2 separate regions of the Homo sapiens genome follow, and region 2 is linked to region 1. Evidence: promoter capture Hi-C in 16 types of primary human blood cells and fetal thymus (Javierre and others, 2016). All regions are on one chromosome and are shown on one strand. The core of a region is centred on a gene start or on the middle of the fragment in contact, and the rest is flanking DNA. Distances in the headings are between cores, read along the strand shown. Region 1 holds the start of SLC5A1 (solute carrier family 5 member 1). Region 2 overlaps RFPL3S (RFPL3 antisense).

The links. Contacts are between HindIII fragments. The CHiCAGO score rates a contact against its expected background, and 5 or more counts as called.
Region 2: a fragment that was not itself captured here is called in contact with the fragment with the promoter of SLC5A1 in region 1 in 2 of 17 cell types (M1 macrophages and M2 macrophages); the score reaches 5.8 in M1 macrophages.

What each region holds. Positions count from the first base shown.
Region 1 is chr22:32,041,199-32,045,044 of GRCh38, reverse strand. It overlaps SLC5A1 (solute carrier family 5 member 1), which reads right to left and starts at 1,784. Exons shown (of 15, transcript NM_000343.4): 1 at 1,629-1,784. The coding sequence starts at 1,763. The HindIII fragment of the contact is 8,724 bases long and covers 1-3,339 here.
Region 2 is chr22:32,364,464-32,368,309 of GRCh38, reverse strand. RFPL3S (RFPL3 antisense) reads left to right here. Exons shown (of 5, transcript NR_104232.1): 4 at 596-620. Among named protein-coding and RNA genes, the nearest start is that of RFPL3S, 4.9 kb to the left of the region's middle. The HindIII fragment of the contact is 1,636 bases long and covers 931-2,566 here.

The DNA.
Region 1 (3,846 bases), core at 535-3,034:
ACCTTAGACAAATCACAACCACATGAGGCTTCAATTTCCTCTTCTGTAAAACGGGGATTAGCATTCTGGCCTTCCCTGTCTTGTGGCTTTTGTAAAAATATACTACCCACCTGACCACTGCTGCCCATTTTACTTAAAAGGATAAACATTGTTCAGAGCCCAGATCATACCATGGAAGGTAAATGACAATAGTAGTTTTTTTTAATCCTAGAGTCCATAAACAGCTTTCAGATTCACCTCTGCGTATCCTCACCACAACCATGGGGGAGTCATTAGAATAGATAAGAGTGTACCTATGTTAAAGTTGAGTAAACTGGAGGCTGAGGGAAGTTACCCAATGTTCCATGATTTGAACCATGTGAAAGCCAGTAGTGAACTTGAGTATCCTGGCTCCTAGTTGGTCAGTTTCCACTATGTCTGGGAAGCTGAGAGTATTGAGGAAAAGTCAGCCATACTGACCCCATGTGACACTTGGGAGGCATTCTGCCACATCTAGTTTCTACAATTCCTTTGGAAAAAAAAAAAAAAACACTTCCTTTTGTCCCTGAAAAAGCTCTGTGTCCACAGAAGTGTTCATGCCTACCTTCCTCTCCTCTAAGTCAAAAGAGTTCAACACAATCACCAGCTGCTACAGCAGCCTCCCTGGGCTTATCACCTCCACCTCCATAACAATCACGAGAATGGCTGGAACATCTGCAAACATTTTATATATTTTTTGTAATTTTTTTTATTTTTGTAGAGACAGAGTCTCACTATGTTGCCCAGGCTGATCTCGAACTCCTGGACTCAAGCAATCCTCCCACCTTGGCCTCTCAAAGTGCTAGGATTACAGGAGTGAACCACCACAGTCGGTCCTGCACACTTTTAAAACATCTCCTCCTCTAGTTGTTGGGCCTGCCACAGTCTGTCATAAGTGAAATGCCCATGTTCCAGGTGGCTGAGAACAAGTTTCTCTGGTTTGCTGTGTCCCCAGAGTCCCAAAAGGAGACACACACATTTCCCTCTCCCCAGTGCCAGGTCACCCCCAGGTCTTCCTCCTCCTCCTTTTCCACCCATCTTTCTCATCTCTAACTTGATCCAGCCCCTGGGATCCTCATGCACAAGGCCTCTGGGTTAGCCTCTCCCAGGAGTGGGGCATGGGTCAGCATCCCTCTGTCTGCCACCTCAGCATCCCCATCTCTGGGGCTGGCAGAGGCTGTGGCTTTCCCACTCCACACCATTTCTTTCCCATCTGAAACTGGATGACTAAAAGGTAGGACAGTAGTCACCTGCTAGAGGCTCATCTCCCAAGCCCCAGAGCCCTCCCTGTAGCTCTAAGCAGCCGCTTTCCTGCCCCTTACACTTTCCAGCGGTCTCTTCAAACCCCCACCTTCCTTCTCTGCTCACAGGCTCAGGTATCCTCCTTGGTCCTTCCTGGCAGGCTGCCCTGGGCACCCTTCTCACTTCTGCTCATCCTTGCTTGCCCTCCTCCCTTCATGCTGTGCCTCTGAGTGCTTCTAAAGTGCTTCCAAGTCATTTCCTCTCCCCTCCACCGACACTTAAGCCTACTGCCCCTTGCAGCTCAGCGAGGCCATTGCTCCTCCTCTGTGCGCACCCTCCCCACCCGCATCCCAGAACCCGCTGCATACCCACAGTCCGACGGCCATCACTACCACGAAGTAGATAACGATGATGGAGATATCGGCTGCATTGCGAATGAGCTCGTGGGTCTCAACAGGCCGGGTGACCGCGGTGGTCTTGGGGCTCCAGGTGCTACTGTCCATGGTGGCAGCGTTGCGTCCTTCCCTCTCGCCAGGGCCGCTAGCTCCTTATACGGCCTCCTGGTTAATGATCAGCACCAGGGGAGGGGACCTGGGACTTTGAGGGAGCAGGGCAGTAGCGCGGGGCCCCTGCGATGCCTTGCGGCTGCACCGTCAGGAAGCAGCTCCGGGCGTGGAGCCCAGGAAGGAGCACCCGGCTGAGCTGTTGGCTGGGGCGGCGGCCCGGCAGGTAAGAGCTGTCCTGCGAATGGGGAGGGGCCAGCCAGGGGGTGGTGCCCGCCTGGCACAAAGGCCCACTGTACTCCCACAGCAGGCACCAGCAGCGCCACCACACCTGCCCTTGCCAGAGCTGGAGTGGCTCCATTGAGGGAACAGGCCACCTGGGGCTAGGAGCCTAGAGGCTTCAGATCACCTGCCACCCATCCTTGGACTAGTCCCATGCCTTCTAAGGACTTGGCTTGTCCGCTTGTAAAATGGGTGCAGCACTCTTCTGAAGAATCAGTCAAGTCTTGTTCTCCCTGGAGAACATTCTTGAGAGGACAGAGAGTTGCTGGGTGTCACTGGAAAAAAACCAGCACAATCCTAATCTCTTGGCCACAAGGACAGCCACCCACCCACCCACATTCCTGACTCCCCCTCCACAGCCTGCAGCCCCCAGGTCCACTGTTACCCCCACTGTAAAGAGGAAGAAACTGAGACTGGGGGAAGGGATCTCACCGGGAGCTATTTCCTTGCCCTGTCCCTCTCCCAGTATTGATGCAGGGCCCTCCAGAGGCAGCAGAAGGGAAGATACTAGAGAACCCTTTCCAAGGAGTTCATCAAACCCTGACCTTCCTGGGGACTCAGCTCACCCATCTGGAAACACATGTCTAAACAGCAAGCCAGGGCTCAGAACAGAGATGACCAAGAGAGGAGGCATGACTTGCCCAAGGTCATACAGGAAACCAGCAGCAGAGCTGGCCCTGCAGCCCATGCCAGGGTTCAGAGGGAGGGCTGTGGGGTATTCTCAGGGGCTGGCTCTAGAGGCCACAGAGCAGCCAAAAGTGACTGTTCCCAAAGAGGGGGGCCTTGCTCTGATGGGGAGGTGCAGGGAGGCAGAGGACCACAGAAACCCTGCCAGGACTCTGGTCTGCCTCAGGCCCTCCCTGCCCACTGCTAGACAACCACCCACTGCCTAAATGTGAGCATCCTGTTCCTTTGCACTCAATGCTTCAGAGGTCTGCCTCCCCTCCTTCCGTATCAGCAACTGTTCTTCCCACTGAAGCTGCAGACAAAGAATCATTATTTGGACAGCATCCCCACAGGTCTTCCCCATTTCCCCCACACATCCCCCAGGACTGCAAACTATATAAGGCTATGTCCTGGGGCCAGTATAATGCCTGCCCAAAGGAAGCAGGAATTCTTACGAGGAACCTGAAAGCAGGGGCTGTCTGCTGTGGATGCCTCCCAAGACTTAGAGCTCAGCTGTCAGCTGCAGCTTGGAGCAACTCGCCTTTTGCCTGTGTTCATTCATTCCTGCATTCAGCCAAGTTTTTTCACCTGAATGTATCCCAGGAAGAGTCCCTGCCCTTAGGAAGCTTCTGTTCTAGTCTGGAAGTGAACCCACCCACAGGAAAAGTCCAGCCCTGAACCCAGGTGCAGGTGCAGGCAGCCAGGCCATGCCAAGTTCCAAAAGTACAAGGCATAGAAAGTGAAGCGAGCAGGAGAGAGAACTGGAAGTACTAAAGGACTTCAAAGGAGGGACAGAGCCATTCTTTGATCTTTTAGGAGAGCCAAACATAAATGGGAAAAGAAAGGAAAGGATGGTGCCCAGGTAGAGGTCAGAAAATGCATCCATTCATTCATTCATTTATTCTTACAACAAAAGAGCAGCTTCTATGTGCCAGATCATATGTACCGACCCTGGAATACAGCTATGAAAAGACACAGAGCTCTTGCCCTCACAGAGCTTCCTGACCAATGACAGAGATAGATCAGCATCAAAGATGAGACAACTACCTGTGAAATTACCATTGTGACACATGCTTTGAAGGAGAAATACTAATACCCCAAATGCCTACCAAGGAATTCAACCTGGGGATAAGGT
Region 2 (3,846 bases), core at 499-2,998, 320 kb before region 1:
GGTCACACACAGCATGTTAGGGGACACTTTCCTCTGCAACAAGCTTTCCACTTTAGATTAAGTATTTTGTAACTGCTACTTCAAAATGGTCTTGACAAAGATTTTTTTTTTTTTTTGAGACGGAGTCTTGCTGCGTAGCCCAGGCTGGAGTGCAGTGGTACGATCTCGGCTCACTGCAAGCTCCGCCTCCCGGGTTCACGCCATTCTCCTGTCTCAGCCTCCTGAGTAGCTGGGACTACAGGTGCCCGCCACCACATCTGGCTAATTTTTTTTTTTTTTTGTATTTTTAATAGAGACAGGGTTTCACCATGTTAGCCAGGATGGTCTCGATCTCCTGACCTCGTGATCTACCTCCCTCGGCTTGCCAAAGTGCTGGGATTACAGGCGTGAGCCACTGAGCACGGCCAACAAAGATACTTTTCAACAAAAGCTATTGTGCTTTCTACAGATGAACTCTACTCTAGATGTTGGGGCTTTAGACTTAAACATTCTTTCCCATCTTGGTTACCAAGAGCCCCTAAGAGAACGAAAGACCTGTGCAAACAGCCCACAGTATGATCTCATCCTCAGAGTGTTTTCTTTCTTCTAATTGCAGGTGACCCCAAGGAACACAGTAAATGGTATGTATTCTGGAATCATTCACCAGGTGTAAAAAAAAAAAGTGTATGTATAAGAAATGTGGAACTTAATTGCTGACTTTCATCTAGACCATCTCCATGATCCAAGACACCTGGAAAGAACGAGAATTTGGGGTGAACTAAAACTGGTTTTTCAGGTGACAAACTCTTGTCACCTATGTGCAATCCCTGGAAACAGGCATATTCACTTTAGGTGGGGTGGATTTGTGTGCACCAAGGCAGAAGGTGTCTATGTGTAGGTCTGTGTGATGTGTTTGTGAATGTGTGTCTAACACACAGGTGAGTGCAAGCTTAAGGGGTCTGCACACTCAATGAACTTACACACAGTATTGAAAGTAAGACTGGACTTCATTATTTATACATTTTCAATATATGGTCTCTGTAACATAAAATTAATGATGTAATACCATAGAATATTTCCCTAGTATTGAATCTTGTCTCTCAATATTGAAAGAGTTGCTTAAAAGCACATGAGAAGTGCTACTCAACACATGATATGTACTGTAGCTGCAGTTAAAGCATTCATTTGGGAAGTTATAAGACTTATGACTAAACTGATGACTTATGCTCTAAACTCAGGCATGAGCTTTGTAAGACAATTGAAGGGGAGGATAAAAGACCTCATTTGCCTCCTCTCTTCAGTGGTTTTATGTGCCTTGTGGAGTGTGGTTATGTGCCTTGTGGAGTGCAGTTACACAGGAAGTTGATGGAGTAAACACAAAAAAGAATTGAACAGGTTAATTGAATCCATAAGACCGTGGTGAGGTTAGTCAATAAGACGGGTCATTTATTTTTTAACTTTTATTTTATTTTTTATTTATTTATTTTTTGAGACGGAGTCTTGCTCTGTTGCCCAAGCTGGAGTGCAGTGGCACGATCTCGGCTCACTGCAAGCTCCGCCTCCTGGGTTCACACCATTCTTCTGCCTCAGCTTCCCAAGTAGCTGGGACTACAGGCGCCCACCACCATGCCCGGCTAATTTTTTGTATTTTTAGTAGAGATGGGGTTTCACCGTGTTAGCCAGGATGGTCTCGATCTCCTGACCTCATGATCCACCTGCCTTGGCTTCCCAAAGTGCTGGGATTACAAGCATGAGCCACCGCGCCCGGCACAATTTTTTTTTTTTTTTTTTTTGAGATGGAGGCTCACTCTGTCGCCCAGCTCCATCCATGTTCCTGCAAAGGACATCATCTCATTCTCTTTTATGGCTGCATAGTATTCCATGGTGTATATGTACCACATTTTCTTTATCCAGTATGTCATTGATGGGCATTTGGGTCTTTGCTATTATGAATAGCGCTGCTGTGAACATATGTGTGGATGTCTTTAGGGTACAATGATTTATATTTCTTTGGGCATATAACCAGTAATGGGATGGCTGGGTTGAATGACATTTCTGTTTTTAGCTCTTTGAGGAATCACCACACTACTTTCCACAATGGTTGAACTAATTTACACAGTCTCTAAGAGTATATAAGTGCTCCCTTTTCTCTGCAACTTTGCCAGTATCTGCTGTTTTTTGACTTTTTAGTAATAGCCGTTCTGACTGGTGTGAAATGGTATCTCATTTTGTCCCACCAGTTTTTTTAACTGTTAAGTTCAGGGGTGCATGTGCAGGTTTGTTACATAGGTCAACTTGTGTCATGGGGATTTCTTGTGCAGATTATCTTGTCACCTGGGTTTTAAGCCTAGCGCCCATTAGTTATTTTTCCTGATCCTCCCTCCTCCCACCGTCCCCCATCCGATAGCCCCGTGTGTGTTGTTCAGCTCTGTGTGTCCCTGTGAGATTGGTCATTTTTAGGTCAAATTTTACATAGTATGTTCTTTATGTGCTTTCTTCTAGAACTTTCTATGTTTTATTAACTAGGCAACTGTTGCTAAAATCTCTACTAAAAGTGGGCACATCTTTATAATAACAAATAGAAGCTTGTAAAGTTGTGATACCTTAAATTTTGCCAAGTTATGAGGGCTTTGCCTGAGACCTGGATGACAGAGTTGTGTAAGAATGTGGGTTCCTCTGAAGACTGTTGAATTTTCTGAGAATAAAGATCTTATTTGTTTCTATTACATAGGGTTAAAGCAGGGACACGGTGGTCTCTAAGGCACATAGGAGGCTCTGAGAACGGAAAATGAGATCTTTCCAAACAGTAATGCAAATCTCCATTTCTGTATTTAGGATCCCTCTGAGAGCAAGCAGGGGTTCACAGAAGGATATAGCTCACTAAGAGAAACAAATAATGGGAAACACAGGTTTATAGCATTTAGAAGAAAATACCAAGATGAACATATTAATATCTAAAGTGAGTTTTGATGAAAACAATATAAAAATTTTTAAAACTCAAAATGTAAATATCAGGACCATGTGACTTACTTTTATTTCTACCAAATAATAAAGACTGGCAATCCTGGGCACACACTTCCAGAGAATACACAGCAAACACAGCCATAGTGCTTTATCATTTTAGGAGAATCTTGATTCCACTCCTGCAATAATAGACTTGACTGGAAAGTGGAAGGACAGAAACATTCCTCTGAATGTGGAACCCAAAATCTGAAAACAAATGTTAGTGATCTAGAGGTGGACTTAAAAAAATAGGATGAAGAGTGGTATTTTATGAGAAGACTTTCAGAGGGCTCACGAGAGAGAATCAGTGGCATTTTCACTGGTGAAGGATTGGGAGAAGAGGCAGAGCCATTGGGTTAATGGAAGGGACATCTGGAGTCAGAGGGAAAGGGGGATCAGAGTGAACCTTGAATGAGAGTCCTGGGGCAGAGTCCTGGGGCAGAGGTTTCCAGGCTGTGGCTATGGAGGGTTTTTTGTTTTTTTTTTTTTTTGAGACAGAGTCTTGCTCTGTCTCCCAGACTGGAGTGCAGTGGCGCGATCTCGGCTCACTGCAAGCTCCACCCCCTGGGTTCACGCCATTCTCCTGCCTCAGCCTCCCGAGTAGCTGGGACTACAGGCGCCCGCCACCATGCCCGGCTAAATTTTTGTATTTTTAGAAGAGACGGGGTTTCACCATGTTAGCCAGGATGGTCTCGGTCTCCTGACCTCATGATCCGCCCACCTCGGCCTCCCAAAGTGCTGGAATTACAGGCATGAGCCACTGCGCCTGGCCGGAGGGGTCTTTCTGACAGGAGATAGGACTGTCCCCTGCCACGGCAAGGTCAAGAAATGGATGTGGAGTTTGTAAAATAGAAAGTGATCTTT